Regions from separate parts of the Homo sapiens genome. Here region 1 is linked to region 2. Evidence: promoter capture Hi-C in 16 types of primary human blood cells and fetal thymus (Javierre and others, 2016). All regions are on one chromosome and are shown on one strand. Each heading gives the region's core, a stretch centred on a gene start or on the middle of the fragment in contact. The rest is flanking DNA. Distances are from core to core; before and after follow the strand shown. Region 1 overlaps LAMP3 (lysosomal associated membrane protein 3). Region 2 holds the start of KLHL24 (kelch like family member 24).

Region 1 (4,683 bases), core at 716-3,215, 510 kb before region 2:
GCAGAGGGAAACCTCACAGCAAATCATCCTAGAGAACCAAGACCCGGGTCAGGAAGGAGTGGCTCATGTATTTGTGTCCTCAGACCTTCTTGGCCTTCAAGCTTAGAGCCCCAAACAGGAGTCCAGAGGGGGGATCTAGGACCTTACAAAGCAAGAAAAGTGTGAGAAGAACAAAGGTGGGGCAGATTGGGTAGGGGCTGGAGCCATCCTGGCTACTTTCTTTTAGGAAGGTGAAGCCGTGACGTCAGTGCTGTAGACCAATGGGTCAACACCAGACCCTGTGGTCAATGGACCTTCATCACCAGGGATTGGGAGGCTGTGCTCCTGAGGAGGTGCTACACCTGGGGCAGGGTTGGAAGCAGGCTGGAAAGGGCCTTGCTCTCATCATCCCTTGTATATGTTCCTATTAATCCACTTATCTTAGTATATATACTGGAATTTATTTACTGAAGTTCCCTCCAAAAAGTAAACCACGAATTCCACAATGTTCACCTTGACAGTAGGCACCTGAGGTAGGCAGCATCCACGCTGCCTCCAGGGGTTCCTCCCTCTCCCGGCGCTGTGGTTGGAAGGTGTCCCCCAAACCATATGTTGGAAACTTAATCTACAATGCAACAGTGTTGAGAAGCGGGACCTTTAAGAGGCAGTGGGGTCATGATGGCTCTGCCCTCGTGGATGGATTAATGCTATTATTACAAGTGTGGGGCCCCCTCTTGCTCTCTCTTCTGTGTCCTCGCACCATGTGATGCCTTTTACCATGTTACAAGGCAGCAAGAAGATGCACATCAGATTTGGCCCTTCCATCTTGGACTTCCCAGGCTCCAGAACCATGACCAAATCAACTTCTATTGCTTGTAAGTTATCAAAAAATCTGTGGTATTCTGTGATAATGGCACAGAATGGACTAAAATCTGATATTCGAGCCCTTGTGTAGTCCCCTTCCACAGTGTACCAGAGATGGTTTGTGTGAACCATAAACAGACATGCGATAGTATGTTTCTTCTGTGATTAGGTTATAAAAATATGACGGCTTTCATCTTGGTCAGTCTCTCTCTCTCTCTTTTTTTTTGAGATGGAGTCTCGCTCTGTCGCCCAGGCTGGAGTGCAGTGGCATGATCTCGGCTCACTGCAACCTCTGTCTCCCGGGATCAAGCGATTCTTCTGCCTCAGCCTCCCGAGTAGCTGGGACTACAGGTGCACACCACCATGCCCAGCTAATTTGTTTGTACTTTTAGTAGAGACGGAGTTTCACCATATTGGCCAGGTTGGTCTCAAACTCCTGACCTCGTGACCTGACTGCCTCGGCCTCCCAAAGTGCTGGGATTACAGGTGTCAGCCACCGCTCCCAGCCCTCTCTCTCTTTCTCTCAGATCACTATGGGTAACTAATATAGGACCTCTTATTTATCTCAGCTCCTACAAGAGTATCTGGCATTTAGCAAATCCTTATCAATGCTGATCAAATGAATGAATGAACAAACGTGGCGACATTTAAGCAAACTAGTAATGCAGTCAGTCTAAGCTAAGAGTTGAGACATTTCATATGTAACTTTAATGTGGTTTATCTTCTCAGGAATTCCTACCAAGTGATAATGTGGCAATGGAGAATAGAATGAAACAAATTATAGAAAGATGATTTAACTTATTGATCGGAGCAAAAACCTAAGATGATTGTAAACAAAATTTATACAGCACAAAAATGAATCATAAAAAATAAATGACATGCACAAATCTCCAAAGTAAGTTTTTATTACAAAAACCTTTACTACAATTCAATGTTTTATTAAGACTAAAGTCAGGACCTTGCCAACTTACTGAGTCATAAGGAAACACATGAGGAAAGTCAACATGGTCTCTAGGCTGACTTGAATTATTCCTTGACTAAGAATTCTAGGGTTATGTGGACTTTTCTGTTAACATCCTGACTTAGTTCCTTTCTTTAGCAGCAAAAAAAACAGCAGAAATAAAATTCTTGGCAGGCTGCTCTACAGAATAAAGTGAACAATAGGAAATATGGATATGAAGTGCAGAAGCAGCAAGTTACCACAAGATGGGGCTATACACTCAAGAAAGAACAGTTGGTTAGCGAAGTTTCTCTATTATCAAAAAAATTTAAAAATACTTTGAGTTTATTTGATGCCTTCATCTTTACAGCCCAGCTAAGCAATCCCATAAAAATGAGCAACTGACTAATGTTTTACAAAGCCCCTCAGTCTCCTTCCAGAGAGTGGAGGATTTATTAAGGATAGGCTATTTTGTTATCTGCAAAGCTCTCCTTTCATCTACCCTAATGTCTCATGATCCTGGATAAACCCATTTCCCTGTAAGGTGAGCGTATGCTGGTATGAGGTGTGAGCCTTCAGGCAGAGTGTGGTGTCATTGTTCTTGTAGGTAACTTGGTGTAGGGAGAAGACCAAAGACCTTGATGTCAGACCAACATGAATTCAAGCTCTGGCTCTGCCATCAGTTAGCCAGGTGACATTTAAGTGATTCAGTTCCCTTAAGTCTCAGTTTACTCATTCACCTATAAGTTGTGAGAATGAAATGAGATATAGATAAAGTGCTTAGCCTAGACTCTGGCACTTTGTTAATAATTAAGGGCCATTATTATTGTCTCTTGCTTATTGTTTAGTTCTACCATCTGTAGCCACCTAATTCTTAGTCTAGCGATTCTGGAGCAGGAGTCATCAAGATAAAAAATATAAGCTGATTTGTTCTTTTTGTTGGTTTTACATAAAAACACTTAGACAACCTGAGATATGTTGTTCTTTTTGATGATTAAAAAAAACATTTAAGGCCGGGCGCAATGGCTCATGCCTGTAATCCCAGCACTTTGGGAGGCTGAGGTGGGTGGATCACCTGAGGTCAAGAGTTCAAGACCAGTCTGGCCAACATGGTGAAACCCCGTCTATAATAAAAATACAAAAATTAGCCAGGCGTGGTAGTGTGTGCCTGTAATCCCAGCTACTCGGGAAGCTGAAGCAGGAGAATCACTTGAACCCGGGAGGCGGAGGTTGCCATAAGCCGAGATCGTGCCACTGTACTCCAGCCTGGGTGACAAGAGTGAAACTCCGTCTCAAAAAACAAAAACAAATTTAAAGTGGAAAAGGAGTTAAGTGCTACACCAGGAATATGTATGTTACATGAAACCATAAAACACAGATAGTAAAAGCACTGAAAGTCCATTTGATAACAAAGCAAAGGCTTTGTTAAGATCAAGGGTAAAATAAAATCTTCAATGCACACACAGTAGTATTAGTTACAATTGACCCTTGGTTTATAATTTGAAGGCTTATTCTACTTTACATATATTATGTTAATTCAACATATCTCAAATGTTGACTTTGAGTGGCTAAAATATTCTAAAGGAAACTAGAAAATAAACAGCTCACTATATCTTTCATAAAATAAACAAAAAGTATTTAGAAATTGATGTGCTGCCTGAACTTAAATCACACATGACTCACTTCATTTGAATAGAAGATGGTGGTTTACATTGTTTGAAGGACCCACACTCTGAGGGAATTTCCCAACATCCATCCTGGAAGGGATGAAAGAGTTCTCTAAATTCCATTATTTTCATTCCCCCCGGGCAACAATTAGATTCTCTGGTATCCAGATGATTGACACCTTAGGCGGATTTTATAGACACCCATACCCATAAGGCAGAGACCAACCACGATGGCCCCAATCACAGGAAGCACAATTGTGTAGTCAGACGAGCACTCATCCACTAAGAGAGAAAACAAATACAATACAGTGGGTAAGGTTTGGTGATGCAGTCCAGAAAGCAGGCTAGAGGGGAAAGAAGATGAGCTTTGGCATCAAACAAAGCTTGACTTTTAACTCCACCATTAACTAGCTTTGTGACCTTGGGCAGGTAATTTACCCTTGCAATTTCCTAATTTATAAAGTAAGCAAATAATATGTAAGACTGTCAGAAGATTAAATAACCATATTTTCTTAGTAATTAACATTCAATAATCATAATCCTTATTTCCTGAACTGAGTAAGAAGTCACTCCAGGCATACTCCCTGCTAAGTGGGATATGCTTACATAAAAGAGACCAGCCGGGCACAGTGGCTCACGCCTGTAATCCCAGCACTTTGGGAGGCCGAGGCGGGCGGATCATCTGATGTCGTGAGTTTGAGACCAGCCTGACCAACATGGAGAAACCCCATCTCTACTAAGAATACAAAATTAGCCGGGCGTGGTGGCACATGCCTGTAATCCCAGCTACTCGGGAGGCTGAGGCAGGAGAATTGCTTGAACCCGGGAGGCAGAGGTTGCGGTGAGCCGAGATCACACCATTGCACTCCAGCCTGGGCAACAAGAGCGAAACTCCATCTCAAAAACAAACAAACAAACAAACAAAAAACATTTGTGTGACCAGTGACCAGATTACAGATGATCTCTTGAGAAACATGATTTTTATCCACTTTATAAAACATTTTTGTCACTCCTAAGGTTCTATTGTATTACTTTTAGCTAATATTAGAAAACAGACCAAATTATTTATGAGAGCTTAAAAGTGAGAGTTTACAAACTTATCAAGACTGTTTTTTCTTTATACCATTAGAAAACGCTTACTCAATTCATTTAATGTAATTGATTGGGTCAGAGACTAATAAATCTCAACCGAGGAAAGACGGAGGGGTCTGGGGTAAAAGGGGAAGTTGATAG
Region 2 (4,345 bases), core at 362-2,861:
GAGAAGGGAAGACCCAAGACAGAGAAGCAAGCTTCCCAAACAGTCATTGGAACTGCGGACCAATGACTCTAAGAAAAAAGTACAGATACACACACACACACACACACACACACACACACACACACACATACACACACGATGGATTATCTGATGGGTTTGATTATATGGAGTTGTATTGAAAGCATTTTATCGTTTTAGAAAAACTAAGAGGACATTGTGATAGATCCATAATAAAATAAGCAAAGAAAGAGGATAATTATTAAAACTCCAAGGAAAACCAAAAGCCATACAAGATGGGAAATTGTATACGATTTGTCTCAACAATGAATAATAAATACATGGTCTCATTAGCGTAAACATTAATGATTTAACCAGATTATGAGAAGGATAGCTTCCTTAATAGGAAATAGTCATACATTATTTGGAAATATATAAATACCAGAAGAAATAGCTCAAATAATTGAATAAGAGATGGAAAAGAGGCCTAAAAAGTATGTTTAAAAGGCCTGTATATAGGCCTTCCATATTATTTCCGCCTCTGGTCATCAGAACACAACGCCTAATTTAATAGAGGCATGACGGTATTCATGACATGTAGAAGATAGAGATTTTTAAATTTGGTATCAGAAACCAAAAACTAGTTAAATGGTTGCAATCATCCTTTAAAAGAATACCTGCAGGCGGGGCGCAGTGGCTCATGCCTGTAATCCTAGCACTGTGGGAGGCCAAGGCAGGCGGATCACTTGAGGCCAGAAGTTCGAGACCAGCCTGGCTAACACAGCCTCTACTAAAAATACAAAACATTACCTGGGCGTGGTGGCGGGCACCTGTAGTCTCAGCTACTCGGGAGGCTAAGGCGGGAGAATCGCCTGAACCCGGGAGGCAGAGGTTGCAGTGGGCCGAGATTGCGCCACTGCACTCCACCCTGAGTGGCAGAGCGAAACTCTGTCTCAAAACGAAACAAAACAAAAAGCTTGCAGACACAAAACGACAACACAATGTCCTTTAGGAACTCCATCTACCTTGGAAAACAGGGATTTGTGACAGCTTTGGTCGACGTGCATGTGCGTTTAAAATAAAAAGGTAACCTAGGATTTGATACCAGGGACAGTAACAGCTTTATCAAAAAAAAAGAGGTGGTTTTCCTTGCTCCTTCTAAGGACTGGGGTTTTAGTCTCGTCCACCCTGCAGGCCCTCAGGCCTGATTTCCGATTGTCTATCAAAGGGTCAAATAAAAAGCTCTCTAAGCTTCGACCCAAGCTTTAAAGTCGAAGGGCTGATCGCGGGCTTTTTCCTTGGGACGTGGCAGGGGCCTTTGAGGGAAGGAAAGAAACGACTCTGGCTTCTCACTCGGCTCCTTACACAAGAGGCATTTTTTTAACTGTCTCTGCTTAAAACAAGGTGTTTTTGAGTCAGCAGCCCTTTGGGTGGGTCTCGTCCTCTTGGGCACCCGACACCCACCCCACGGCGGGAGCCCCAGGTGGCCCCGGAGGCCACCGGGAAGCGTGAACTACATCTCCCAGGGTTCCCCGGGGCGGAGGACGCCCACCCGGATTGGCCAGGGTTCGCTGACGCTCAGTGTTTTGGCCCGGACGGTCACATGTTTCCTTTGTTGTGAGCTGCGGCAGAGACTGGTGGCTGGAGGAGACGCCGGCGCTGGAGAGTGCGCTGCGCCGCCCGCCGCTGAGGGACCGCGGGGTTAGCCACTGCTGGCTGCTTCCAGTGTTCGCCGAGAGGTACCGGGGGTGACAGCTCCGGGACCGGCCGAAAGGCGAGGAACCGGTCAGAGTCTGAGTCCTCGGGGGCGGAGGGGCGACGGCGGTCCTGACCACCGGGGTGTCTGCGGGAGGGCAGCCAGCGGCGGCCGGCCTCTCAGAGCCAGACTGGCGGTCTGCGGAGAGGCTGCAGCTGGGCTACAGGGCCCCTTTCTGAGGCGAGGGGCCTCCAGGGTTCACCTGGGGGGTCTTCCTCCCCCGCTTGGTAGCTACAGCCCTGAGGGAGGGCGCGCGCGCCTCCTGGCACTACGGCCCGGAACCGCGGCGCGGCTGGTGCGGCCTGGCTAGGGCGGGGTGGTTGCCGGGACTGGGGGTAGCCGCAGGTGCGGTAGGCTAGTCGCCGCGGGGCCGGGCGCCGCCGGGGGAGGCGGCTGGGCAGACGGGTGCTGCTTGTTGCCGATGGGCTGCGAACGGGGCGCTGCTTTTTATTTCAGGAAGCCCGGGGGAGTGCGACCGCCTCAAATCCAGCCTTCTTGTTTGGTGGGACGACCGTCGGTTCTGTCCGGGAGGAATGACGGGGTCAAGGTGGGGTCCCCAGGGCCGCGGGCCCGTGAAGCCCCATTAAAGCGATTGCGAAATGCACTCGGCACTGTCACCTGACCGTTACCCCCGCCCCCGTCCCCTGCGAGCCTTTGTTTACCACGATCGCGACACCCGGCCCGCTGCGGCCGTCCCCGGGGAGCCGGGGCGGGCGGGGGAGCGGGCGTTCCGCCGGCGCAGTCCCCGCCTAACCTCCCCACCTTCTTACCACTCCAGGACTCAGTTTCTTAATTTAGTTCCTAATGGACCCGCCCTCAAGTTCTGGACACCCCGGGTGAAGACTGTTAACGCGGCGGGGATTGGGCGCCTGCGGCAGCTTGTGGGCGGTACCCGAGGGAGAGTTCGAGTTTTTATTGGCGAGTTTTTATTGTCACTAGGTGGGCCTGCCCTGGGCCATTCTTCCCGCCCCCTTGAAGGTGATCTGGAGGACGCGCGGGAGCGCGCGCTGTCGCTGCTTTTGCAGCTGCGGCCCGAGTGGAGCCGGGTGGCGCGGGTGCGGGAGGCGCGCGCTCCCGCCCCTGCTGCGGGCGGCTGGTAGCCTCGGTGGCCGCCGCCGCCGCTGCTGCTGCCTGATCCTGCAGGCAGTTCTGGGCACGCAGAGATCGGCTACCGTGGCCTGCCCTCCGAGGACCGGAAAATTAACACCCTTTAACTAGTGTCGCGTTATCTGCCGGGTGGTTCGCAGGAAGTCCTGCGAACACGTTGTTGCCAGTTCTGTAAACGTGTTTAGATAGCTAAATATAGATCACAGTGCCACATCTTAGGGGGCCCCACGGTCACCCCTGAGGCAGTGGCTGTTCACAATTGATTTTAGTGGATTTTAATGATTAATCACTTGCTCTTGTGGGCAGCTTTTCAAAAATCACGTCTTTGTATTTGCAGCTACAGACTGGGTCCACCAGCTAAGAGGTTGGTTTTTATTAGGGTTGTAAAATAGATTTAAAATCTGCTTGTTGTTGGCTGAGATTTAAAAGCAGATTTCTACTATTTAAAAAAGATAGTTTGAAGATACTCCCCTAAAAAGTAAAGATTCTTCCATACTCGGCTCGGATGAGTTGTTTTCCTTGTTTGAGGGATTCTAGGTCACACACTTCTATGTTTTAATTCCCGTGGTAATTCAAAATGTTTGAGAAGTGGGTTGCGACTGTGTCGTTTTAAAATTGTACATTAAGCTGACGGTAATAAAATCTTCAAGACCAATCATTTTTAGCCATAGTGTGTTGAAAATGGTTTTTCTAATCGCTTGAGTTAATAGGGTATTTGCGTTTTGTCAGATTTTCTTCTGCAGATATAGGAATTCACTCAAGACTTAATACACTTGTTTTGTTTTTGAGACAGGGTCTCACATTCTGTCACCCAGGCTGGAGTGGAGTGGTCTCACTCCGTCACCCAGGCCATCTCAGCTCACTGCAATCTCCGCCTCCCGAGTTCAATCGATTCTCCTGCCTTAGTTTCCCGAGTAGCTGGGATGACAGGCGCCCGCCACCACGCCCGGCTAGTTTTTGTATGTTTAGTAGGGACGGGGTTTCACCATGTTGGCCAGGCTAGTCTTGAACTCCTGACCTCAGGTGATCCGCCCGCCTCAGCCTCCCAAAGTGCTGGGATTGCAGGCGTGAGCCACCGTGCCTGGCAAAGACAATACATTTTTGTAGAAGGAAGTTTGAGCTCCCCTGGATGAAGCAGGAATTGAATATGAACAGTTCCTATTGGTTATGCATTCTTTAAAATTCCAGAGGAGATGGTTACACCGGAATGAGCATCTCCTGTGATCAGAACCGCCTCATCACTTGTGCATTGAGAGTATTTAATGTATCTAAATGAGTACAAAATGCAATCGTCTAACCTTTTGAAAAAGTAAAACCATCACTCAGTAAAGGCTTGCTTATTCAAACAAAGCCAGCAACCTAAGTCTCTAAACAGGAAGAAGAAATAAATTCTGCGTTAAGGCTGACTACCAGCTTTAACTTAAACTTTCCTGGCTTTTGTCCAAGTTGTTGAACCTTAATGCTTTTTCAATAACTTTTTTTAAC

What was found. The method cuts DNA at HindIII sites, captures the fragments that hold promoters and counts their contacts. A CHiCAGO score of 5 or more calls a contact.
Region 1: a fragment that was not itself captured here is called in contact with the fragment with the promoter of KLHL24 in region 2 in 1 of 17 cell types (fetal thymus); the score reaches 5.6 in fetal thymus.

Annotation. Positions count from the first base shown.
Region 1 is chr3:183,120,483-183,125,165 of GRCh38, forward strand. It overlaps LAMP3 (lysosomal associated membrane protein 3), which reads right to left. Exons shown (of 6, transcript NM_014398.4): 6 at 1,733-3,732. The coding sequence ends at 3,599. Among named protein-coding and RNA genes, the nearest start is that of MCCC1, 23 kb to the left of the region's middle. The HindIII fragment of the contact is 3,732 bases long and covers 100-3,831 here.
Region 2 is chr3:183,634,012-183,638,356 of GRCh38, forward strand. It overlaps KLHL24 (kelch like family member 24), which reads left to right and starts at 1,612. Exons shown (of 8, transcript NM_017644.3): 1 at 1,612-1,782. It overlaps LOC107986162 (a long non-coding RNA gene), which reads right to left and starts at 2,598. Exons shown (of 2, transcript XR_001741042.2): 1 at 2,524-2,598; 2 at 152-2,273. RefSeq lists an enhancer at 1,458-1,517 and silencers at 1,938-2,047, 2,058-2,127, 2,318-2,637, 2,688-3,017. The HindIII fragment of the contact is 5,143 bases long and covers 1,259-4,345 here.